Regions from separate parts of the Homo sapiens genome. Here regions 1, 2, 3, 4 and 6 are each linked to region 5. Evidence: promoter capture Hi-C in 16 types of primary human blood cells and fetal thymus (Javierre and others, 2016). All regions are on one chromosome and are shown on one strand. Each heading gives the region's core, a stretch centred on a gene start or on the middle of the fragment in contact. The rest is flanking DNA. Distances are from core to core; before and after follow the strand shown.

What was found. The method cuts DNA at HindIII sites, captures the fragments that hold promoters and counts their contacts. A CHiCAGO score of 5 or more calls a contact.
Region 1: a fragment that was not itself captured here is called in contact with the fragment with the promoter of KBTBD8 in region 5 in 8 of 17 cell types (M1 macrophages, M0 macrophages, M2 macrophages and 5 more); the score reaches 16.9 in M1 macrophages.
Region 2: a contact is called between a fragment that was not itself captured here and the fragment with the promoter of KBTBD8 in region 5, in 9 of 17 cell types (erythroblasts, naive CD8 T cells, M2 macrophages and 6 more). The highest score is 9.1, in erythroblasts.
Region 3: a contact is called between the fragment with the promoter of TMF1 here and the fragment with the promoter of KBTBD8 in region 5, in 13 of 17 cell types (naive CD4 T cells, total B cells, total CD8 T cells and 10 more). The highest score is 32.1, in naive CD4 T cells.
Region 4: a contact is called between the fragment with the promoter of PSMD6-AS1 here and the fragment with the promoter of KBTBD8 in region 5, in 6 of 17 cell types (erythroblasts, activated CD4 T cells, total CD4 T cells and 3 more). The highest score is 13.5, in erythroblasts.
Region 6: a fragment that was not itself captured here is called in contact with the fragment with the promoter of KBTBD8 in region 5 in 5 of 17 cell types (total B cells, naive B cells, naive CD8 T cells and 2 more); the score reaches 13.0 in total B cells.

What each region holds. Positions count from the first base shown.
Region 1 is chr3:68,999,918-69,004,118 of GRCh38, forward strand. EOGT (EGF domain specific O-linked N-acetylglucosamine transferase) reads right to left here. Exons shown (of 18, transcript NM_001278689.2): 9 at 1,691-1,797. Among named protein-coding and RNA genes, the nearest start is that of EOGT-DT, 11 kb to the right of the region's middle. The HindIII fragment of the contact is 6,572 bases long and covers 1-4,201 here.
Region 2 is chr3:69,020,010-69,024,592 of GRCh38, forward strand. It overlaps TMF1 (TATA element modulatory factor 1), which reads right to left. Exons shown (of 17, transcript NM_007114.3): 16 at 4,046-4,171; 17 at 1-3,311. The coding sequence ends at 3,168. Among named protein-coding and RNA genes, the nearest start is that of EOGT, 8.6 kb to the left of the region's middle. The HindIII fragment of the contact is 9,838 bases long and covers 1-4,583 here.
Region 3 is chr3:69,050,821-69,055,059 of GRCh38, forward strand. It overlaps TMF1 (TATA element modulatory factor 1), which reads right to left and starts at 1,513. Exons shown (of 17, transcript NM_007114.3): 1 at 1,125-1,513. The coding sequence starts at 1,266. UBA3 (ubiquitin like modifier activating enzyme 3) reads right to left here. Exons shown (of 18, transcript NM_003968.4): 18 at 3,910-4,239. RefSeq lists an enhancer at 1,105-1,574. The HindIII fragment of the contact is 2,649 bases long and covers 1-1,751 here.
Region 4 is chr3:64,009,192-64,013,249 of GRCh38, forward strand. PSMD6-AS1 (PSMD6 antisense RNA 1) reads left to right here and starts at 2,773. Exons shown (of 2, transcript NR_189168.1): 1 at 2,773-2,851. PSMD6 (proteasome 26S subunit, non-ATPase 6) reads right to left here. Exons shown (of 8, transcript NM_014814.3): 7 at 1,687-1,764; 8 at 1,360-1,573. The coding sequence ends at 1,477. It overlaps PSMD6-AS2 (PSMD6 antisense RNA 2), which reads left to right. Exons shown (of 3, transcript NR_038286.1): 2 at 506-562; 3 at 2,606-3,052. The HindIII fragment of the contact is 1,623 bases long and covers 1,877-3,499 here.
Region 5 is chr3:66,996,253-67,000,836 of GRCh38, forward strand. It overlaps KBTBD8 (kelch repeat and BTB domain containing 8), which reads left to right and starts at 2,055. Exons shown (of 4, transcript NM_032505.3): 1 at 2,055-2,119; 2 at 2,729-2,939. The coding sequence starts at 2,104. RefSeq lists enhancers at 1,713-1,812, 3,776-3,875 and a silencer at 2,153-2,472. The HindIII fragment of the contact is 2,180 bases long and covers 2,019-4,198 here.
Region 6 is chr3:69,067,006-69,071,423 of GRCh38, forward strand. It overlaps UBA3 (ubiquitin like modifier activating enzyme 3), which reads right to left. Exons shown (of 18, transcript NM_003968.4): 6 at 923-1,003. Among named protein-coding and RNA genes, the nearest start is that of UBA3, 11 kb to the right of the region's middle. The HindIII fragment of the contact is 2,389 bases long and covers 880-3,268 here.

The sequences.
Region 1 (4,201 bases), core at 1,247-3,746, 2.0 Mb after region 5:
GTTAACATGAAAAGGAAAACTGAACCAGGCACAGTTACTCACACCTGTAATCCCAGAACTTTTGGAGGCCAAGGCAGGGGGATCACTTGAGCCCAGGAGTTCAAGACCAGTCTGAGCAATCCATGAGACCCCATCTCTACAAAACATATGTTAAAAATTAGCCAGGCATGGTGGTGCATATGCCTGTAGTCCCAGCTACTTGGCAGGCCAAGGTGGGAGAATCACTTGAGCCCAGGAAGTTGAGGCTGCAATGAGCTGTGATCATGCCACTGTACTCCAGCCTGGGCAACAGAGCAAGACCTGTCTCTAAAGAAAGAAAAGTAAAATTGGAAGACAGCATAAATTAGAAGAAAAAAGTAGAGTTATGAATATAGGAAAGAAATGAGACATGTCTACTCTAGCCTATTATTCTCACTTTATATACTTTATTGTATAAGTATCTGCATAAATTTAATAGCTCACACATATTTGCCACTTTTACAGACGGATCAGTGTTTTCTTTGCCCCTTTTTAATTTGCATGTTTTAAAAACGAGTCAAAACCTGGAACATAGCATTTTTACTCGCTTTTATTTCAAAAACCTAAACTTGTCTGATTTCTGAATTTAATACTTTGTAATATAAGAACTATGACTTCAGAAGGCAGAGCACATTAAAACTATGATCAATAAATTATACTAATTCTGAAATATTTGTGACAGAGGCTCTCTATATTTCACTGTAAACCCAACCTCTCATGAATTTTGATATGATCTAGCACAGTAATCCCTGTCTCTCATAATGAAAGAGATAATATAGTACAATCTGTGTTTCTCCTCCCCAGTGTAACTAGTTCGCAAAGTTAAAGCTCTGCTTGCAAGCTGAGAAAGAGGCTATAAGTATAAATGATAAAATAATTTTAATTTTATGTCAAGAATAAATTACACTGGTAACTTCCAGAAGAATTTTAAGTTCACTTTAGTCATGGAAATGATACAGAAAGTTTGTCAGCGCAGGTCATGGACACTTCTTTCCCACCCATACTATACACATGGCTTTTGATTTTTTTTTTTTTTTTTTAAGACGGAGTCTTGCTCTGTCACCAGGCTGGAGTGCAGCGGCACGATCTTGGCTCACTGCAACCTCTGCCTCCTGGGTTCAAGCGATTCCCCCGCTTCAACCTCCCGAGTAGCTGGGACTATAGGTGCCTGCCACCACGCCCAGCTAATTTTTTGTGTTTTTTTAGTAGAGACGAGGTTTCACCATGTTGGCCAGGATGGTCTCGATCTCCTGACCTCGTGATCTGCCTGCCTCGGCCTCCCACAGTGCTGGGATTACAGGTGTGAGCCACCGCGCCCGGCTTAGCTTTTGATTTTAAACATCTTAATGAAAGACAATCTAAACCAAGTGATTAGAGAAACCAGATGAGGTAAATTTAGTTACAAAAGGCATAAATATGCCTTCACCTCTCGTCCTTTGATTTTGGTTAAGTCCTTTGATATAAATGTGAAAGTTTCTTCTAAAATGCCCAAGTTATAAAATAATGGGAAGTTCAAATTAGTTCAACTACTTCTTCAGAGAAGAAAGCAAAAAAAACAAATCTACTGTTTGTCATACTGCTTCCAAAAAATTCAGAGAGAATTACTACATCCAAAAAAAGGAATAATATCTCATTAACAAATACACAAATAACAGAAAAAGTTATTTCTCACCTGCATCTAATTTCATGAAATATGTTGGTTTTTCAATGACAATGTCACATTTAGCATCTTCTATAGGTCTGAAGTTGAGCTGAGTATAGCTTTGTAGCTCAGCAAACCTGAAATTATGAATTGGGACATGACTTCAAACTGATTCTCCCAAACTTCCTATTAGAACACTGTAACTTAGGATCTGTTCATTAGGCAGATTTTACCTCTAAATGGTACAGACACTCCTATGGACACCTGTAACTTCTAAAACTTACTGACTTTTATATAGGTTGATATCAATTTTAATGTTAAGACAAGGAACAGACCGGGTGCAGTGGCTCAAACCTGTAATCCCAGCACTTTGGGAGGCAGAGGCAGTCAGATCACGAGGTCAGGAGATCAAGACCATCCTGGTCAACACGGTGAAACCCCATCTCTACTAAAAATACAAAAATTAGCTGGGCGTAGTGGCGAGCGCCTTTAGTCCCAGCCATTTTCAGGAGCCCGAAGCAGGAGAATCGCTTGAACCTGGGAGGCAGAGGTTGCAGTGAGCCGAGATGGTGCCAAAAGGAGCCGAGGCTTACAACAACCTGAGTGAGTTTAGCAGCAGATTCTCCAGGCCCAGGTTGAGTCTAGAGATGGCTACAGCCCTGGCCAACTCAGCCAAGCTGCTCCCAAACCCTGACCCTCAGAAGTACTGTGAGATAATAAATGTTTGTATTTTAAGCTGCTAAATTTTAGAGTCATTTGTTATACAACAATAGGTAATAAATATAAATATACCCTAGGGTACACTTTGGAATAGCCTGTCACACAGCAATAAGCAACTAATACAATTATGCCCTGAGCAACTACCATGTGGAATCAAATATCAGAAAGTACCAGGAATCAAAAAGCCCACTTGAATATAGAAACTACCTCTTGTAAAAGTCTGCTAAGTGACTTGAGACATTGCATTGCAGACTGCAAAATCCCAGATAAATGTGTGGTAGATCATTATTCTGAATGATCTGCAGCCAGGCAGTGAGGCCTCTTTAAGGACAAAAAAAAAAAAGGTTTGCTCAGCATGAATTTCTTTTTTTTTTTGAGACAGGGTCTTGATCCATCGCCCAGGCTGGAGTGCAGTGGTGCAATCATAGCTCACTGCAGCCTCGACCTCCTGAGCTCAAGCAGTCCTCCCGCCTCAGCCTCCCAAGTAGCTAGGATTACAGGGGCATGCCATCTCGCCCAGCTAATTTATTTTTATTTTTTATTTTTCTTTTTTAGAGATGAGGTCTCATCATGTTGCTCAGGCTGGTCTTGAACTCCTGGCTTCAAGTAATACTTCTGCCTTGGCCTCCCAAAGTGCTGTGATTATAGGCATGAGCCGCCATTCCTGGCCTTGGTATGGACATTTGACCTTACAAATTAACATTATGTAAGTAACCTATGTGACTATACAGGAGTAGCAGGAGAGTTTCTTTGGGATGATGGAACAATTCTGCATCCTGATTGTGGTGGTCGCCCTCCCCGTCCTCCTCCCCCTCTCTCTCCCTACCTACATACCCGCACCTACACAAGTGATAAAATTTTAATGAGTACAGGTAATTGCTGGTAAAACCTGCACAAGTTAATACTACTGTACCAATGTCAATTTCATGGTTGTGATCATTGTGCCATGGTTATATGAGATATTATCATTAGAGGAAGCTCAGGGAATTAGACAACGTACAAGTTCTCCTTGTAGTATGATATGGTTTGGCTGTGTCTCCACCCAGATCTCATCTTGAATTGTAGCTCCCATCATGGGAGGCACCCGGTGGGAGGTAACTGAATCATGGGGGTGGGTTTTTCCTGCGCTGTTCTCAAGATCTGATAGTTTTATAAAGGGCAGTTCCCTCTGCACACGCTCTCTTGTCTGCTGTCATGTAAGACGTGCCTTTGTTCCTCCTTTGCCTTCTACCATGATTGTGAGGCCTCCCCAGCCATGAGGAACCATGAGTCCATTAAACCTCTTTCCTTTGTAAGTTAGTCAGTCTTGGGTATAATACATACTATTTTTAAACTTCTATGAGTCTAAAATTATTTTAAAATACAAACTTTTTAAATTCAAAAAGCTGGCCAATGATGTTAACAGTCAGAGTAGCATCTACCTTTGGAGAGGGGGATGGGGGTAGAGCCTGGGAGGGAGACTGAGGTGCTGACAATGTTCTATTTTTGGACCTGGGTAAAAGTTACATGGGTGGGTTCACTTTTTCACAATCCAAACTGTACCTTTTTCTGTATGCTTTTACATACTTTAATATATGTGTATTGTTTTTTAAATGGGTTCCCCAAAACACATTTTTATTTTTTAGATTTGAGGTCTCATCATATTGCCCAGGCTGGCCTTGAACTCCTGGGCTCAAGTAATACTTCTACCTTGGCCTTCCAAAGTGCTGAGATTATAGGCATGAGCCACCATTCCTGGCCTTGGCATGGACGTTTGACCTCAAAAATTAACATTATGTAAGTAACCTATGTGACTTTGTAAGTGAATAAAACTTGGCAATT
Region 2 (4,583 bases), core at 582-3,081, 2.0 Mb after region 5:
ATGAAAAATTTTGATACACTAGAACATAAATGTATACGTACTAAACATACAGTATTAAAACAAGATAAAACATCTACAGTTTTCTTTTTTCTTCTATTTTCTAAATATTATAAATCATATACTTTTAATAAGCATTCAAATAAAACTCTCAATAAATGCCAACTGAAGAGATGGAGAAAAAAAATTTCCTGAACATTCTTTTCACTTACTTCACTACAAACTTCATGTTTCCTAGGTCAGAAGTTATCCACATTTAGAATATCTTAAGTCACAACATAGATATATTTGGTACATTCCACATGCTAAACACTGTACAACTGGCAATTCTCAAAAAATAGGTAAAAGAAATGTAAGAAATGGTAGACTCAGTTTAGCCTCCCAAGAATTGGAAGGACATCTACAGTCTGTGCTTAATTGTCTATAAATGACCAAACAACCTTCCCTTTGTTTACTCATTTTTTTATATTCTTGAAAATGTTATTTGCAGCTTTTTTCTTTCAAGAATGGAAACATCTAATTGCAAATCATTTTCCTATCCATTAAAATATAAATATTATTTTGCAAGAATATGGGTAGAGATGTTTTAATGACAAACAGCAAAGTATAGCAACGAATATTCAATAGGTATTCTGCCACCTACTGGAGTTTTTCAAGAAACTGTTTAAGTTCACTTTAACTTACAGAAGTATTGAGAGATCCAAGTGTTTAACAATCAAAATATGATCAGTTTGAGTATCAGCTATTTATTTGTAGATAAAGAGTAATATATGGTAATATGTAACTAGAAACTATGTAACTAGAAATTGTTAATACGGATAAAAAAAGAATGTTTAATTTTATAAAATTGAAAAGTTTAGGAATGAGTTTTATTGCAATCTTTTCTCTGCAAATGAAGTTTTTTTCTACTAGTGGATATTTTAAAGGGACTATTTTATAATTCCAAAACGTCTAGTTTCAAATGCTTCAGAGAATTTTGTAACTTAAGTTTCATATAGAGTAGTCTCCCCTTATCCACGATTTTGCTTTCTGTGGTTTCGGTTACTCACGGTCAACCACAGTCTGATTACAGGTGAGTACAGTACAATAAGATATTTTGAGAGAAAGAGACAGACATATCACATTTACATCACTTTTATTACAGTGCACTGTTATAATTGTTCTATTTGCAGTTATTGTTTATCTCTTGCTGTCCCTGATTTATAAATAGAACTTTATCATAGGTATATATGTATAGGAAAAAACAGTGTATAGAGGTGTCTATACTATCCATGGTTTCAGACGTTCACTGGGGGTCTTGGAACGTATGTCCCATGGGTAAGAGGGAACTACTATATTTTCTAATTCTATACATTTCTTATTGCTTATCTGTCCTGTCATTCTGCCCTTGAATATTACACACACAAAAAAATCAAGCTGACAAAAAGCTATTAGACTACTTTTTACTACTAAAATGAAGAAAATTAATTTTATGAATCTGGCTCACACTGAAAGAATATTTATTAACACTACCAATCAGAGATCCAATGACAGAAACACTGTCTGGAATACAAAAAGAACAAAAAATGAGGTCATTTGAATTGCCCTGAAAAACTCCAAATTCTTCAAGATGGTGTACTTGTATCTATATTCTGAAGTACTAGTGTTTTAATTTTAACTAAAAATTAAATAAGAGTTTGTTTTTTTTTTTTTGAGACGGAGTCTTTCTCTGTCACCCATGCTGGAGTGCAGTGGCACAATCTTGGCTCATTGTAACCTCCACCTCCCAGGTTCAAGCAATGCTCCTGCCTCAGCCTCCCGAGTAGCTAGGATTACAGGCGCACACCACCACGCCAGGCTAATTTTTGTATTTTTAGTAGAGATGGGGTTTCACCAAACTGCTGGCCATGCTGGTCTTGAACTCCTGACATCAGGTGATATGCCCGCCTTGGCCTCCCAAAGTGCTGGGATTACAGGCATGAGCCACAGCACCTGGCCGTAAATGAGAGTTTTTATGTGCAAGTAAAGGCAGTTAAATAACTTTCAGTAATAAAATGCATCACAATATTTCACAGGTTTAAAACACAACCTGGTTACCTTTTTGAATAAAATAACATTTGGAAGAAGGCATAGCTACTTTTAAAAGCTATTCTATGCTTTCCTTGTGTTTGAAATTTCAAGAAAAAATAAAATGATAAATCACAAAATTAAAAATGCCAAATTCAAGTTAATTCCTATAATTCTTCCATTTTGTTATGAATATTCTGTAATATCAAACATTCATTTTTAATGTGCTAAAAATATGGGTTTACAAAATATGAACAGGTAATTTTTAAAGAGTAAATTATGTTAAGAACTTTATTATTTTCGATTCATTTTATAGGGTAGTAAAATAATACTTCTTCAAAATCATTTAAATGTTATTGATGCCATTGCAAAATCATTATAAATAAATTTTCTCCATTATCCAATCACATCTAGATAACATTGAATATGTACAGGTTTCTCTGGATAGGTACCAAAAGGTACCACATTTTATACAGACTTAATTGTGAAAGCTGGGTGAAATAAATTTTCAGATCAAAATTTTTTTTAAGTTTAAATCATTCACTCTTTAAATTTCAGACAGTGTCAGTGTGACTCTTACTTTTAAAGGAAAAAAATTAGTTTAAAATTTAATAGCCACAGATTTAATAATTTTTTACTTTAACACTTAATGTACATTTTCATGAGCAGTAATTAAGATATGTTGAAATTTTAAATGTGAAAGATTTCAAAGTTTCAGTATGTTAACATTACTCTTCAAATGTTCTTAATATATATATAAACACTTACAAATTATAGATACAACTAGTTGTATATCTACAATACATATATGAACACCATTCTTCTTCTCTAGCCATATTTATATGAGGATAAAGTAATAAATCTCTGTGCTATTCAAGGAAAAAAAATGAATGCTTTAAAAAATAAATCTTTAAAGAATAGTTTCAAAAATAAAGTTCAAATATTGCACAAAATAATTTAACTGTAAATATTACTACATAGTGTAAAACAATTTTAAAAAAATTTTTACACTCTACAGTAAATCCCACTTTCTAATTCTATAAAAGAATTTATTGGAAGTCCACATTAAATGTTTAGATATTAAATGCTTACATTCAGTTTGATGGGAATTCAATTTTCACAAGTTAACTGAGACTTTGTCTTAAAAGTTCATCTATTTGAGTTTTGTACATATTTTTTACATCTTCGAGATCTAATCGAAGTTCTTCTGCCTCTTCTGCTTTTTCTCCATACATCTGCAGAATAGTGTTGTACCTTTGATCCAAATCCTGAAAAATGTATTTGTTTACAATTTTTAAAATAACTACACAGAACATCTTTAATATTTATATTGCCATAGGAGTCAACAATGAAAACACTACAATTTAAATAAAAGTATATACTCATCTCTTTTAAAAATTAAACTCACACTTCAGTCTATGTTGAACTAAATAGCAAAAAAAGGAATTAAAGAAAAAAACCAAGCTAGATGGCTATCAATTTTACCCTATCTCTCCACTAAATCTACAATTCTCCCCATATATGACTTCTCTCCCATTAATGTAAGCACACTTGATATAAAATTTAGTCTCTTTGTTCCATGGTGGTATAAGTATTACCCGGCATTTAGCCCACACCACAGGAAAGATCAAAAGAAAACATATTCTCACTTATGGCTTAACAGTGTCTTCTAACATCCAGATGAGACAATTGTGATGATACATATAACAACAATCAACAAAATATTACTAAGATCATACAAAGTTCAATGTTATAAATGAAGTGTAGCCAAATGAAATCTAGTTCTTTTCCTATACTGGGACTAAACATGATTGTGAAAATTACTTTGAATATGTAAAGATACAAGCAAGATAAAAGATTCATTTTTAAACTTCTTTGCTCAAATATTAGTACTCTTTAATTTTCAAATAAATCACTAACACATACTATAAATTAAAAACATGAGATTTAAAGTAAATGAACTAAAATATCTTAGACTCATCCTTAGGTGAAGAATACTTACTCTTAGCTGAGTTCTAAGTTTGGGTATCTCCTTCACCTTCTCTTCAAGTTCATCATTTTGATTTGTTAATTTAACTAGTTCTTCAGCCATTATTGATCGAGTTTTTTCTAGATTGCCAATTTCTAGCTGAGAAGCATTACCACAAAATAGTTTAAATCAAAACATATCTTTTTTAATACTCCCAGTAATATAAAAATATTTAATGTGTGTGTGGTTTTTTTTTTTTTTTTGAAATAGACATGTCAACATATAACCTTGAGCTAGCTCTTTCTTAAGTAAAGGAAACAGTGGCAGAAAAACGGTCCCAACTTTCCTGAGAGGTATACCGTTTATAAGGTTTACTGTGCAACAGAGATAAATCCAATTATTTGTTTGAAAACATTCAACCATATATTTTTCTAATCTAAGGAAATGACATATATTTCAGTTATTCTAAATTACTACAAGAACCCAGAGAAATAAAAATATACTTTAACGTAGCCCCACCTGTGTAGGTTGTATCGACAGAGGCTTTCATCACTACCAAAGAAATTAATTA
Region 3 (4,239 bases), core at 263-2,762, 2.1 Mb after region 5:
AAGTACATCTCTTATCCTTTTTCACACAAAGGTTCACATCCCCCAACACCAGCAAATCTTTACCCCACACATCAAATGCTGAACTGTTCCTTAGACTTAAGAGTCAAAAGCAACTGAATGAAGATCCCTGAAAGATTAAGCTCAATGAAACTGCAAAGAGAGACTTGGCTATTCAGAAATAAAATGTGATACCATCCAGAAATCTTGGGTCACACATTTTCCGGCTAATACCTCCGGCACATTCTAATCCTCCTCCGCCGTGTGACCTAGAGCAAGTTACTTGGCCATTCTGGGCCTCATTTTCCTCTTATGTAAAACACGGATATAAACCAAGCTCTCTCTGGGAGTTGTTCTGAAGATGAGAAGGCCATAAAAAAGCACATTACAGGCTCGTGCCTGTAATCCCAGCACTTTAGGAGGCCGAGGTGGGTGGATCGCCTTAAGTCAGGAGTTCCACCAGCCTGGCCAACATAGTGAAACCCCGTCCCTACTAAAAATACAAAAAGTTGCCGGGCGTGGTGGTGGGCGCCTGTAATCCCAGCTACTAGGGAGGCTGGGGAAGGAGAATCGCTAGAACCTGGGAGGCGGAGGTTGCAGTGAGCCGAGATCGCGCCACTGCACTCCAGCCTGGGCGACGGAGTGAGACTCCGTCTCAACAACAACATAAAACCACATTACGCGCTACCAAGCGCGAAATGTTCACTGACTGTTAGCGATTGTTCTTCCCTTCCCTGATGATTTACGTACTTCAGACCTTGGATCCCAACAGTGCCCGAGACGCGAAGCAATTCGAGGTTCAGGTTCGGGAAGGTTGTGCTTGGAAGCTGCGTCGAGGGAGAGCTTGAGGGCAAGACCAACCAACCAAGTCCCCTGTCATCCAAGTCCACAAGCCTCGCACCCAGGACCAAAGAAAGACAAGGGGGAACCTGGATCTGGGTTTTCCCTCAGGAAAACAGCAAAGACCGACTTGGAGGCTGAAGCAGCATTAGGGAACGGGCCGGGGAGAAATTACTTCCTGAAAACTCTCTCAGCAAGGAAGGACCCCTCTCTACACCACTTAACCTGCCTGCATCAAGAGAACAGCAGCCTCCGGGAGCCAGGAACCCCGCTCCTCTCTCTCTTACCCGGCTCTCCATACGGAATGGTCTCGGCCCAGATGCTCGGCTCCTCTTCCTGGATGTCCAGAACCCTGTCAATAGACTTCTGGGCCTGGGACAGGGCCTGCTTAGCGAAGCTGGAGAGCTGGGAGGCGTTGAACCAACTCATCGCCCCTCCTCAGCCGGCAGTGGCGGCGGCAGCACCAAGCGGGAAGGCCTCAGGCCTGGGGAAGGGTGCAGAGGAACGGCTTCGCTCCCCTTTTCCACTCGGCTGGTTCTGTCAGCGTGTGGCCATTACCCCGACAGCCTCCCGCGAGCCCGGGATGTTACCCTCGGCCGTTCCCGCACAGCTGAGACGAAGGGGGCCCATGTGCGCATGCGCTTGCTTCTTCCACGTACACAGCAACCAAATCTACGAGCCCAGAGTTCGGTCGACAGACGGAAGAACAGAAGAACGTTGACGTCACATCCGGGAGCGCAGGGTTGCCGTTAGTTACCGAGGAACGCGGAAGGGTTTCTATTGATGTCGATTTCGTGCTTACAGCAGTTCTTAGCGAAGGGGAAGCTATGGCTACCGATAGAGGTCGATTTCCCCGGAAGGAATATTCAAGTTTTCGTGTGTGTGCTTTCCAGGAAAATAGTTCACGTGCTAAAAGCTTGCACCTTGCCAGCAATAATTGCAAAGGGAAATTGGGCCTCACACTTCTCTTAGCCCTTTGTCTCAAATATTTAATAAGCTCTGTATTAACTTGGTATTGTAAGGAGAAACACTTGTTTGGGCTTGCCTAAAAGACAGGATCACGTATGAACACTGTGTCCAACTCGTGGAACACATGGTGCATAAAGCACAACCTCTCTCTCAAAATAGTAGTAAACTCATTGCTGCAGTCAAAATACCCCTAATACTGTGGTCTGTCGGTGTCCCCTGCACAAATTCCTATGTTGAAACCTAATCTCCAATGGGACAGTATTAAGGGGAGCCTTTAGGAGATGATTAGATGATGATGGAGCCCTCATAAATGGGGTTAGTGCCCTTATAAGAGAGGCCCAAGGGAGCTCACGGCAAGAAGGCACCAACTCTAAGCCAGAATAGCAGCCCTCACCAGACACCAAATCTGCCGGCTCCTTATCTTGGACTTCTCAGCCTCTAGAACTGTTAAGAAACAAATTGCTACTGCTTATAAGCCACCCAGTTTATGGCAATTTGTTACAGCAGTCCAAATGGACTAAGACACCTAGGAAGCACTAAAGCTGTTATCCTAACAATGTGCACTGTGCATATTACTTAAAACATAACCTTTTCTGTGTGCATTCTCTTCGAACATTTGGACATGGGAAAATACCTTAAATTGGTGGCCTTCCTAATCCAGTCTGCAGCTATATTTGGTTTGGGCCCAAGTTAAAGACAAAATCCTAACTAAAAGCCAGATTTCATTCAAAAATCTAGATTTCCAGCTGCTTTTGAAAAATATGAATACCAAGCATGGGAATAGTCAGCCAGAGTGGTCACCAAATAATTTTCACTCACTCCAGTTTGCCACAGACCCCTATCACTCATCCTATTACACCCTCCCTGCTGTGATTATTTACCTTATATGCCTGCCTCCCATATTTGAATATTTTACCCCACTGCAAGGAACTCTGCAAAAAAGAATTATTTTTCTTTTAAAAAATCAGATTGAACCCCTTAAGAAGTTATAATCATCTTCCAATAATTTTATCTAACTACAGTAAAAACTTGCATGTTAAAACTAACAATTTAGTCATGTACACAAGTAGTACCAAGTAACTCAAGTACTTTCAAACAGCTAAGTAGTCTGCAGAGGAGATTTGGGGCAGATTCGGGTTGAAATTAGCTGTACAGTTACAGTTCCAAGACTTCTAATTGTACAGCTTTGGTGAAATGACCTACCTAAACCATCTAAAACTATTTATTCAGCTCTCAGATAGAGTCACCTTCTTACAATGCTACTTTGAGAATTATTATAGCACCTATATGGTGCTAAATTTTAGTTCCTTCACTTTCAAAATTGTAAGCTACACCTGTAACTTTTCAGGTAGAGCTTATAAATTTATTCCGTATGGTTTTATAATAAAACTTATTTGTCAATATGTAGCTAGAAAGATTACTGAAAACTTAACTCAGTGACACATAAGTAACCAAAAAACATTTGAACAGAAAACTGCCATATCTAAGTCAAAAACAAAGAATGAGAACACATACATGTTCTCATATTAAAATACTAGCACCTACTTTTTTAGTATTTGTACTTAATTTTGTTTGAAGTTTTATTCACTTAAAAGAAACAAAAACATGGTCAGGCATGGTGGCTCATGCCTGTAATCCCAGCACTTTGGGAAGCCGAGGGGGGCGGGGGGGGGTGGATCACCTGAGGTCAGGAGTTTGAGACCAGCCTGGCCAACGTGGTGAAACCCCGTCCCTACTAAAAATACAAAAAATTAGCCGTGCATGGTGGCAGGCGCCTGTAATCCCAGTTACTCCGGAGGCTGAGGCAGGAGAATTGCCTGAACCGGGGAGGCAGAGGTTGCAGTGAGCTGAGGTTGCATCATCGCACTCCAGCCTGGGCAACAAGAGCGAAACTCTGTCGCAAAAAAAAAAAAAAAAAAAATTATATTGATACAGAAAGTTAAATTAAACCAGTAAATTTTTACTATAGAAATTGCTGTAGCAAAAGTATTAAGTGCAATAAAAATTTGATATAACTCTGCTACACATTTAAAAATTATTCCTATATTACCATGGAACTACTGATTACCCTTAATGTACTTTTAAAAACTTCAGTGAAAGAAGTACACAATATATGATTTTATTAATAAATAGTGCAAAAGCATCAGTGATAACTGTTTGAACATTAAATTTTTTAAACAGCCATGTCTTGGCATTAGTTAATATTGTGCATATTGGCCTCTATGGCACTACAAGTAAACAGATGAAAATATTGCCCATTTTCATGCACAGGTATTCAGCTATAACACCATTTACAAATCATTATGAACAAGATAAATTCTGCAATAATATTCATTTGGATGGCCACAATTAAATGAGTGTTATATCAAGAAATAGCCTATGTTCAATATACTCCAGATGTCAGATTGTAAAATGTAATGTTATTTAAAACTT
Region 4 (4,058 bases), core at 1,523-4,022, 3.0 Mb before region 5:
TCCTTGGCATACAACCAATGGCTCTTCTTCCAGCGATGAGAGCTGCTGTCTTCACTTTTAAGATAATGCTTCTAATATTTTGCCATTAATTACCTTGTGATAGGGCTTTGATATCCCAACCTATTATTCATAGTCTACTGAAGAGTTTTTTTATCATGAAGAAATGTTGAATTATATCAAATTATTTTCAATCAAATGAGATCATGTTAACAGGAGTATGTTATTCCTGTTAGGAATTCCATATTAGGAATATGTTATTCCTAATATGTTAACAGGAATCATTCCCATCAGTAAATGTTATTTAAAGCAAAAAAACTCAAAACTCTTCTTTCCTTCCCTTGCCTTTTACAGTAAAATGCCATTTCCCATTCTCTTCTGAACTCACCTCTACCAAAACTGCTCATTAAGGTCACTAGCTGTCTTTCACTTAAGCCAAAAAGCCTAGGATCTCCTCTGACAAATTTTCTCCCCCTCATCCTCCTCACCCCATTCTTCAATCTTTTAGCAAATCCAGCTGCCTGTACAATCCATGCCACCGAATGCCGTAAGTGAGACGTAAAAGGTAAGCCAAATCCGCACTTAAAATTGCCAGTGACTTTCCTCGTCTTTCTTCCCTCCATACGTTCATGGGCTCTCCCTCCTTTTCACTTAAATGTCACCTTACCATAGAAGCCTTCCACAACACCTCAGAAGACGGCCTATACCCTGTATCTCTATCTATCTATCTATCTATCTGTCTGTCTATCTGGTTTTATACTTCTTATAGCACTTATTCCTATCTGACACACTGAATAAAACTGATAAAACTAATAAACTGTTTCAAACAAACAGAGGAACAACTTTGTTTTCCTCACTGCTATTATTACTATGGTCCTACTTTTGGAAAAAAGATTCAGTTTGCTAATAAATACTTACATATAAGGTTTTAGAAAACTGAGATCAGCCTTGGTAGATTCTGTAATCCAGGTTATGTCAGCTTCCTAAAAAAGAGTAACTTCCTGCCTTATATGGTTACTTGTTTCTGAGGGAAAGCTTATTACACATTTTCTTTATCTTCTATCTTTTGTATACTAAAAGTGGGAGACACTGTTTGTTTAATTTTAGGCCACTACTCTTCTTTCTAAAATCGGGAAGCTTACAGGTAAGAGATTTAAAGGTAAGCGATAATGGGCTGTGTCAACATCCGTATTTTACTGACGTATTTTACTGATGAGGCAGTCAGGAGCTGAACCTAGCTGAACCCAGCTGCAACCTTACCCTATAAACCAGATTTTCATTAATGAATAATTCAAGTGACATTATTTTAACATAAGTGGACCCGATTCTAGAAGGCCTATGTGTTTAAGAAAAAAATAAATGGAAAGAAACAACAATGCAGTATTTATTTTATACAGCTGACCTGGGCACATTGTGAAGTAAGCTATAAAAATTCCAAATAATTATCTCTAAAGCAAATCCTTTGTTAGTTACATGGCTTTACATATTAATTACTCTGGAAAGTTTTTGAACTCTGTTTAGTAGCAGATCTCCTTTCTTGATAGTTTCTTGGTACTGCCAGTTCTTGCTATCAGGTCTATAAATAAATTCAAGAAAAAATGAATTATTTACCAGTCACATTATTCCATGACAATAGTTGACCTACTTTTAAAATTTAGGAATGCCCCTTATTCTGAGAAATGAGAGTACCTGTTGGTTTCTACTATTTCATTCACTTTATCTATTTTGCAGTGTAGTCTCCCGGCAGCAATAAACCTGGACAGTTCCCTAATTTAGAGACAAAAAATAACAGAATTAGCTTTATAGAAAATTCTTAGAAAAATGCAAACGGCATTAAAATACTGTCTTAAATTTGTAACAAACATTTAGCTTCCCTTCAAGCTTGTTATTGCACATGCAGTAGTTGACGTTGTCCCTCCTATACTGCAGGCTTTAAGTCATCATCTACTAGAATAAACATGATCCTAGAAGTTCATATTCAGATAGATAGAAAGTAGATCAAACAATGAAACCATATGTACTCAGAGAAAAACTGTAGGTTAGGAAAAATTAGGGACCAAAACTGATAAAAACAGTAAACTGTTTCAAACAAAAGACCTAAAACAAAATTATGGAACACAGCCCATCAGTAAACATGTCAACAGCAATAGTATTAACATGTCAACAGCAATAGTATTTACTAAAACAACGACCCTTTCCCTCTCTAACATATCTTAGTCTAAACAAGTGGAAGGGAAGGGGAGAAATGATGTAGAATTATTGCTTTGCCCATTTTAAAAAAGGGGATTTCATCTAAAATGTAACTTTTTAAGGGAGAAAAAAAGAATAAAGAATCCATGACAACCCAGATTTGAAATTCTTAGGTATCACAGAAATTTAAAACAAGGCCTTTTTAGGTAACAACAACTAGAGCTCAGTGGTACAACCTTTGCCTCTCAAGCTGGTCTTAGAACATGAAGGGAAAAAAAAAAAACTGAACAAATACTACCTGAATTCAACTACTACCTGAAAGGTACCAGCTGCCTTGCATTCACTTGTCATCAAGATGACTTAAGGAATACTGCGGTGTGTGCCCCTAACTAATGAAGGCTTTATCTCCACATTACAGTTACGATACTGAAGAGACGTAACCTGACCAAGGCCACAGAGCTGGAAAAAGAAGCAAAGCCAAGCCGTTTTTCTCATGCACTGCTCACAACAAGCCCCTCCTTCCACTGACTCATGAAAAACACACTCATAATGCCCAGCCCGCACCCTAATGAACAGCCCTCTTAAGAGTGGTCATCAGACTTCAATTTCACAGACTAGAATTGAGAAATGGAACAAAACCTTGGGATACCAGCCTTCCATTTTGGTAGGGATCATTTAAAAAATGGTAGGGATCATTTAAAAAATGTGTTGGTGTCTGAAACTTACTTTGAAGTGGTTAAAAAACATAAAATGTATAGATTGTAACAAGCAAATATGTTAAAATGTACTGTACAATTCTTTCTTTACAATTTTATGGATGTTCGAAATTTAAAAAATACTAGAAAGAGAATGGTCTTATTTAAAAGAAATGCATCTTCATTTAAAGTTTCCACTGCAGACCATTGAAAACACCATCATCAACATTTAAAAACACCTACATGTGGGAGCCACTGATCTAGATGCCATCTGGACATCCCATATTGAGTATGTCTCCTACCCAACTCTACTCTCACCACCCTCGTCCACGCCACGGTAACATCTCCTCTAAGAGCTACTAAACAGCACAACTGGTCCTCTCTGCCACCTTACTCTATTTCTTATATAAAGACACTGCATAGGACCATGTAACTTGGGCTCTAAATCTTCCAATGGCTCCCTATCAAACTTACTTAAAACTCAAGCTCCATCCCATGACCTACAAGGCCCTACACAAATCATTACCTACCTAACTCTCCATATATTATCCTCAAAATCTCCTACCACTCCAACTATGCTGGAGCCACCCTGACATTTTCTGTTCCTACAACATCCAAGCTTATTCCTGGCTCAAAGCCTTAGCCTTTTCTATTCCCTTTTCTGCACGCAGAAGGACTCCATATGGCTGACTCCTCTCAATTCAAATCTCAGAGCAAACCTCACCTCCTTAAGCATGCCGTACGTAAGGATAGCATTTTCTCATCTCCATAGGTTCATTTCTATATGTGAAATTACGTTTTATATTTATTTGCTTCCTTGCCATCTCTTCCCTACTACTACAATGAAAGTGTGAAAAGGGAGCTGTAAAACAATACCAAACATATAGTAATGAATGGCTCATTAAGTATTTATTTGTTTAATCACTGATGCAAGTACTAAAAGTCCCACATTTAACAACCAATCTGACCAGAATTGCAGCAGCAACCTAAAAACTGGAAGGAATTATCAGAGGGAATATGACCAACTGTAAATATCAGATCTAAGAGTCATTACCGTAGCTGCAGTGTGGTCTACAAAGAAGTAACAGAAGACAACTTTTGATAACAACTGGTCTAATGACCTTTAACAAATCACTTAGCCTCACTACAACTCATCTTCCCATCTGTTAATGCAAG
Region 5 (4,584 bases), core at 805-3,304:
TGGCAACTTTTTACCTATAATTTTTTTTCTATTTATTTTTAGATTGGCTTTTGTTCTTTGTATTCTGCTGCATCTCCAATTTATAAATCTTTGTGGGTCAAAGAATCAGAACACTGTCTTCTCACTAATCAAACAATATTGTCAAGTCTGTTTGTTACTAAGTTGAGAATTGAATTTTTAAAAAATTGGCCAAGTTTCTTAAGGCTTAAATAGATAGATGGCTACAAAACAACAACAAAGCACAAACAAAACTCCTCTATTTTAACAGATTTGAAAAGGTTGCCAGATAAAATACAGAACACCCAATTAAATTTAAATTTCAGATAAACAACAAATGATATTTCAGTTTAAATATTTCTCAAATAATGCATGCCCTGTATTTTTATTTGCAATATCGTCAGATGTTGTCAAACCCTAAGGATTAACGCCATTTTTTTCCTCAATACTAACCATATTGTCATAAAGTGCTACCATTTTAATAAATTAGAAAGCAACATCATAAAAACGAAAAAATAAAGTTATGAGTAACCAAAATTAAGTCAATTTCATCTATCCAGAAACGTGCATACAGGACATTCACAAAGAAGAAATTATAAGTGCATATGTATATGCAGAAACCCCAGTCATGAGGAAACACCACTTCCTGTTAACTTGCATGGGATTATAGTATTTTAAGTTCTAAATTTCTCAGCAGACCTAGAAGACAGAACTGAATTGTTTTTCATAATTATTTCTCTTTCTCAATCACAATTTAAATTCCAAGATCCTTTCTTTATCAAGAAGTTCAACGGTTTGATCTTTTCAGTGCTAGAAAAGTTATGCACACGGGCTAACTATATGTCTACTAGAAATTCTTCCCATTCGCTGATACTTCCTTACATTTTAACATCTAGAAATAGCATTCCCAATGTTAGCTCATTTGCACCTTACATTTATTTTTAAAATATGAAACATCTATAATGTGCCAGGCACCCCGTTAGATGTTAGAAACACAAGATGAGTAAATAAAAATTCGTCAACAGTAAAATTTTGATTTTCTTTCCAAAAGGTTGCAGCCTATGAAATCCATGGAGTACGGATTACTATTACTTCACGTTACAGATGAAGGATCTAAGCGCTCAGGGGTTGAAAGGTCTTATGTCAGTTCTCACATATAGTGACTAAAGAGCCAGGGCTTCAGTAATCATCCCTGGCTCCGGGCTCAGGGCATTCCGGTATTTTTTCAAAGGAAATTCCGGAATACTTAGTATTGTATCCCCTCCATTTCCCAAGAGCAAAAAGTAAAGCATCTTGGATCCCCTTGTAATGTTCACGTGAGGAACAGGTGTTCTCTGGGTGTGCTAGAAAAGCAAGGCACCAGTGGGAGTTGAAGATCCTAAGCAGCCGCTGTAACCAGACCAAGTTAATCTGTGGAAACCAGAGCACCCGGCCAAGGCGATGCTATTTCAATTGGGTGTCATAGGTGACTCATCAGAGACGCCTTGCTTTTGGGCCTTGTGATATTTTTCTTCAGGGTGGGACGTCAGATTTCCTTTGCATTTTTGGACAACAGCCCTCCTGTCCATTTCCACATTTTTCTGGTTTTACAGCTCTCACGCAGAGCTTGATTTCATACCGGAAGCTAGTCACTGGCAGGAAGTTTACGGAAGAAGAAAAAGGTAAAAAAATGTGCCGGGGGCCAGGAGAGAGGCCTAAAATGGGGAAATTCGCACTTGAAGAGCTTTCCCTACCCCAGCCCCTCAGAATGACAGTTCTCCTCCGCCAGAAGACTACCTCTCCCGGCAGGCACTGCGCGCTCGACGGCCACAGGCTGGCCAGCTCCCTGCTCTCCACCTCCATCCGAATCAGCCAATAGGAATTCCCGGCTTGGGCCTCCGCCCGACCCGGACCACGCGGGAGCCGGGGCAATCAAACTACATTTCCCGACACGCATGTGCTCGCGTCGTGGCCAATCAGCGCCAGGAATTCGGAGGCTAGGGGTGGAGCCAGATGCACAGGACACCCCATTGGCCAGGGGAAGCTTAGAAGAGCCGGAACCCGGGAGCTAGAGAAGCGAAATGACATTTCCTTTTTAAATAGCTGGAGTCGGGGCCCCATCGAGAAATGGCCGCGTCGGCAGGTGGGTCGTGTGGTGGCCAGGGCGGCGTGGAGGGAGGTGAGGGGGAAGGTGGGCCGGGGCCGGCCACAGGCAGTGGGATGAGGACGTAGCGGTGCGGAGCTAGAGGGAAGGATGAAGCGGTGGAGGGGAATGAGAAGAGGGAGGATGAATGGTGCGGAGGGCGGTGGGCGGTCCGGCGGGACCGGGATGGGGAGGCTGGGTACCCGCCGGCGCTGCGCCCCAGGAGGCAGCGGGAGGCGGCTTGAGGGGGCACCGGCGGCCGCCGTTGTTCGAGCTTCCCTCGTGAGGCTCTGCCCTCGGCTCTCGGCGGAGTCCGCGCAGACGCCTCTCCTGGGCTGCGAGCGCGTTTCCTCCGCGAGCACGGGTGCCGGGCTCGCCGGGCTCCGCAGGAGCAGGCTGGCCTTTGAACTTGTTCCGCCGATCGCGCTCCGCCCTCTGTCTCCCAGATCCTTAACTCGCGGTCCCACGAGGTCGTGCGTATATCCACAGACATTTGTATATATCTTGTAGGGGGAAAAAGCCTAGCAAGCAGACACACAAACAGAAAAATCCCGCGATGCCGTAACTGGCTCGGCACTTCTTGTAGTTGTACGATTTTTCTCCTCCTAGATTTAAGTAAGTCTTCCCCAACACCGAATGGGATTCCATCTTCAGACCCAGCCAGCGATGCCATGGACCCCTTCCATGCTTGCAGTATTCTTAAGCAACTCAAAACAATGTACGATGAAGGACAGTTGACAGACATTGTAGTGGAAGTGGATCACGGGAAAACATTTTCCTGTCATAGAAACGTTCTTGCTGCAATCAGCCCTTACTTCAGGTATGATGATGGTAGGAACTTCTGTTGGTATCTGCACCAAGCTCCCTTTCCCCCTCAGTATTGTCCACTTGATGTTTATATTGAGATGCGATAATGAAATGAAACCAATGACTTTGTTTCTTGAGACTAGAAAACAAGTCCTCTCTTAACTAAGACCTTCTTTTGACTTGAGGGATTCTTCTAGATTTCGGGTGATTGCTTTTTAAGTTAGTGGGCCTGTGTGTGTGTGTTTGAGGTAAATGACCAGAAAATCTAGACTTGTGCTGGTCAGTATGGAAGCCAGTAGCCATGTGTGGCTGTTTAAACTTAAATTATAAGTTAAATAAAATAAAACATTTAGTTCCCCAGGTACACTAAATACTTTTTGAGTGCTTGCTGGTCACCTGCAGCTAGTGGCTGCCATATTGGGCAGCACAGAAATACAGCATTTTCATCATTGACAATTTTATTGGACAGTGCTGATCTAGAATTTCTTTCAAAAAGTTATCCATAATGCATGTTTCTTTAGTGTATGGGACTCTTTTATAAAATAGTTTAAAACATGTAGCATGTTCCTTCAAAAACAAATTACCACTCAATAGATTGTTTAAATGCTATGGGGGTCAAAGCAAGAATGAATATAGTTTCTTTGTGCCTAAGGCCCCAAATTAATAATATCCAAGATTTCTAGAAGTATGTTAAACGAAGTTTTTGTTTTTACTTATATTGTCTACTATAAAACTTTTAAAAGTAAAATTTAAAAACTTGGGTCTGAAAAATAACTTCCTACTTTAAGATGAGTGGAAAAGGCAGTTTTCTGCATGGGCTTAACTTCTTTTGTGTCAAATGCTCACTTTAAGCCTTTCAGTATTCACAAGTGGTGCATAAATAATAGTAAAGTTATCAACCACACTCTGAATGTGATTTTTCCTTTTGAAGGTGCTTACCTTTATAGGGCACATAACCATATAATGTTCCAACAGTAGTTTCTGGTTCCTCTTTCTCAGAATACTGGGTTAAATATAGTCACTTCAGTCTGATGCTTGTGATGTAACCGTTTAGACTTGCCTAGGGTAGGTCATTGGACTACTAAGTATTAATCATCGCAAGACAGTGAGCTGGAAAGAAAAAAAAACTCACATATGCAGAAGGTATGAAGTTTGGCCTGGTAATGGAAACTTCTAGTGAGATTCACTTACCCAGATTATCTATTAGATATGGTTAGGTCATTTGTATGTTTAAATATATGTCACAGTTACTACTTATCAAGCTCTAGGCTAAGCTTACTTTACATGTATTGCCTTATATAATCTTTATAATCCTATCTCTGCATAGTTGTTGTTCCATTTTACTTATGAAGAAGCTGAGGCTCAGTGAGATTGAGTTTTAATAACCTGCCTAAATCATCTATCCAACAAGTAAATGGCAGAGGCTACATTTGATTACAGAGCCAGGCTTCTTAGTAGCCATATGACTCTTAAGGAACAAGAGTTGGTACAGTTTCCTTTAAAACATTTTTATTGTATATTGCATTTGAATAGTAAAAACAAAAACAAAACAAAACAAAACAAAAACTGCAAAGTAAAAATGTCTATATCTTACTGAAATTTAATAATCTGGATTATATCATTTAAATGTCATACTTATGTATGCTTACTAAGTATAC
Region 6 (4,418 bases), core at 824-3,323, 2.1 Mb after region 5:
AATTTGGATAGTGATTCCTCCCACTTTCTTTTTCAGATTTGTAGTAGGTATTCCTTTGCTTTTCTATATAAAATTTTAGAAGATCGTCTATATCGACAATTTTGCTGGGATTTTAATAGAAACTATGGTATATATGTATACAAATTTAGGGAGAAATGACATCTTTACTATATTTAATCTTCCAATCTTTGAAGATGGACTATCTCTCCATTTATTTAGATTTTCTTTGGTTTCTTTCATCAGCATTTTGTAGTTTTTCACTATATAAATCTCTTACTTATCTTGTAGTTTACATCTAAGTATTTATTTTTCTTTCTAAGCAGTTGTAAATGGCATTGTATTTTACATTAACTTTCACAAGTTCACCGGTATGTTGATTTTGTATTCTGTGGGACTTTCTACATAGAAATCACATCTTCTGACTTTCTATAAAATGCCAAAAGTTCTCCAGATCTAAATTCAAACTACAGTGTAAATACTCCTTTTTAAAAACATATTTCTTGTAAAAATAAATTTACTGTGATGTACCTTCCATTTGGCTAATACTATATTGACTGTCTACTCTGTCTGCTACTATAAAGAAACAAAGATTAATTGGATCCAGCCTAGGAATTTACACTCTAGTAAAGGAGATATGTAATTGATACTGAAATTAAGGGCAATAATGCAAAATAAAGTAGATGATGAAACAGGCTTTATAAACTTAAGTTAAAAATCAGGGCCCAAAAAATATTTATATAACCATACAGAAAAGACTGGAAGAATAGATAGCAAAATGTTACCAGCAGTTATCTCAGTAATAAAGTTACTACTGCTGACTTTTTTTCCCTCTTGCTTATCTGTATTCTCTGTTAAATATCTCTTATAATAAAGGAAAAAAGCTTTTAAAAATTAAGTAATTTTCTTTTTGTCAAAAGGATACGGAACTACATTGCAATTAGGAACTCTGTCATTTAGAAATTCTGCAGCAACTTCAGCCTTAGGTCTTCCAATATCTTTAGGCCTACAGGAAAAATATTTAAATTATAATTCATATTATAAATCTATATGATCTACATAACTTATTTTCAAACATAAAAGTAAATTCACAGTAAGTTTACTTATAGGAAATTTAGAAGGAATATTTTTGCCTAAGTATTTTGATTTCAGTAATAACTTTTGGTAAACGGTCATTTAACCTTAAATGTCAACCCTTGCTAATGGTCCAAATTAACATAAGTCTAATTAAGTATTGCTTTAATTAAGAGAAAATCTGAACAGTGTTCTTCCTCCCAGATAAAGCATAATAATGCTATGATTCCTGGCCACTTTCCACTGTAAAAAATTATCCCACTCTTAGAGCTCAGAACCTTATGGTGTTACTCCACAGGTCTTGGCTGAAATATACACAATAAGATTCATCCTTGGGATGCAAGAACCTTCATTTAACCCCTTCTTCCTGTGTGTGCTGATTAAGCAGCAAATTTTGTGTCCCCTAAGAAGCTGCATGAAAAAGAAAAAAAAAGAAAAAAAAAATTTCACTGGACCGTATATAAAATGGAAAAAAAAAAAAAAAAGAGGCTGTAACCACGTTTTTTTCTTTTTTCTTTTTGAGACGGAGTCTCACTCACTCTGTCACCCAGGCTGGAGTGCAGTGGTGCGATCTCGGCTCACTGCAACCTCCGCCTCCCAGGTTCAAGCAATTCTCATGCCTCAGTCTCTAGGGAGGTGAGATTACAGGTGCCTGCCACCACAACCAGCTAGTTTTTGTATTTTTAGTTTTGCCATGTTGGTCAGGCTGGTCTCGAACTCCTGACCTCAGGTGATCTGCCCGCCTCAGCCTCCCAAAATGCTGGGATTACAGGCATGAGCCACCATGCCCGGCACCAAGTTTTTAAAGAAAGAATAATACCAAAAGTGTCAGCTAAAATTGCAAATGTTACTATTACATCACAGAAGCTGAATATATAAGGCCTCAAAAGGTCACTCTTAAAACAATAACCACACATATAGATAGGAAAGGATATGAATTTCCTCCTCTAAGTTCTATACAAATGGTATTTTCTTTCCTAATATTTCCATATTCTCCTCAGAGAAATCACTCCATGTATATAATAAGAACATTATTACTTTTTTCGTAACATATTTGCTACATACACGTCTATCATACCCACTAGACTATTATTTGGATGAAAGTGACCATGTTCTTACTCTCTTCATATTCCTTCCTACCTAGCACACAGTAAATACTTTTAAAATAAATGAAAATAATAAATCGTGTGCTTATTAGAAAAAAATCTGAAATTTCAAAGAAAAACACTTTAGCATGTCAATTTTTCTTTTCTTTTTTTTTGTTTGTTTGAGACAGAGTCTCGCTCTGTCACCCACGCTGGAGTGCAGTGGCACAATCTCGGCTCACTATAACCTCTGCCTCCCAGATTCAAACAATTCTCCTGTCTCAGCCTCCAGAGTGCTGGGACTACGGGCATGAGTCACTACGCCTGGCTAATTTTTGTATTTTTAGTAGACACAGGGTTTCACCGTGTTGGCCGGGCTGGTCTCGAACTTCTGACCTCAAGTGATCCGCCCACCTTAGCCTCCCAATGTGCTGTGATTACAGGCATGAGCCACCATGCCAGGCCAATTTTTTTTCTCTCCAATAAAGCACTGTTCTTTTTTGATTCAAAACTTTTGGTAAATGTTTTATCTTCACTTTGTACTAACTTACATAAAAAAGGCCCTGTTATAAATCAAAGAACTTAATTTCAGTATTGCATTCAATGGCTCCACACACAGAAAGCTCTTTTGGTTTGTAAAAGGGATAAAGTAGACTTCTAAGATTATTTTAAGTAATATATTCTATGTGCTTTTATGGCACGGCCCAAACAAAAGAACTCCTAGATGGTTTCTGGGAACTGTTTGTTAATTTACCATTCCAGGATGAAACAATCAGATTGCTCCACCTCAATAAAATGGCCTTTCACACACATCATCCTTGCAGGACACTCTGCCCAAATTATTTAACCTTGAACACAAGAACCTACCCTGAGGTTGCTGAGATTAAATGGAATAATATGGATAGTTTAGAAGTACTTGCTACATATCGTTATTACCATCTTCAACCATTTTAGCCACAAATTAAAGGGTATGGCCTGTATCAATAACAAATCAATTCAGTGGTATCTTTTTCAGAGAATTCACAACTCAAAATTTGACAAGCTGGACAGAGCCCACAAACTTTGCTATAGAGAAGGGAAATTTCAAAGGTTAAAAAATAAACAAAAAATAAAGCTTAAAAGTTAAACATTAAGGGTCACACTGCAATTACAACACTTCATTAACTTATTTTAATCCATACTTCAGTCCCATTAAGATCTTCCACAAAGATAATGTAGAGGTTTTATGCCTATCCAAAAACTTAATGTTACCTTTTTTGCTAGCTCAACTTTATCCTATATACCCAGAACAATTTGAGCACTGTCAGTAACAGATGCAAACTTCCTAAATAGAGAGAGAAAAAAAAAGTCCTTATCTCTGTGTATCTTTGACTAACAAATATACACTTTTACCTAAACTACTCAAACCCCTCAATATTACATACTAAATTCATGAATGAACATTTCTTCATGTCTGGATACATGGTCTACTTCAGTTTTTGTTTTTTGGGTTGTTTTGTTTTTGTTTTTGAGACAGGGTCTCGCTCTGTTGCCCAGGCTGGAGTACAGTGGCATGAACACAGTTCACTGCAGCCTCCAGATCCTGAGCTCAAACGATCCTCCTACCTCAGCTTCCCATGCAGCAGGGACCACAGGTGCACACCCGGCTAATTTTTTAATTTTTTTGTAGAGACGAAATCTCCCTTTGTTGCCCAGGCTGGTCTGGATCTCCTGGGCTCAAGCAATCTTCTCACCTCAGCCTCCCAGTGTTGGGATTACAGGTGTAAGCCACCATGCCTGGCCTCTACTTCTCTTCTTAAACTCATCTTTAACAAATCACTCCTTGATGTTCTCTATATTCCATATATGCCTAAGGTAACCATCCCTCTTTGTTCCATTCCAATTGGTTCTGGTTTTTCTCTCCTCGACTTTCCATTTTCTTTCCCCTTGTAGGAAAAGCTCAAACTCTTTCCCAACTTTATTGCTCCAGTCACCATTCAAACCTTGGCTCACAAATCCCTGCCAATCTCTCACTAGGGCCTAATACTCCAGCGAGTATTCTCTTCTGACATCAACTGGAGGAAGAGCTACCGTTCTTTCCTTTCTTCAGAGCACAGTTAACCTGAGGATATTCCCAAAAATCACATAAACCTTTGGAAGGAGACTTCTTCGAAAAAACAAAAACATGTATTTGTTTACATAACTACTATCACCAAGATGCCCAAAATTTTCTTACAAAACTTTACCTACAATGGGAATGGTAGTTTTTGTTTTTTAAAATAA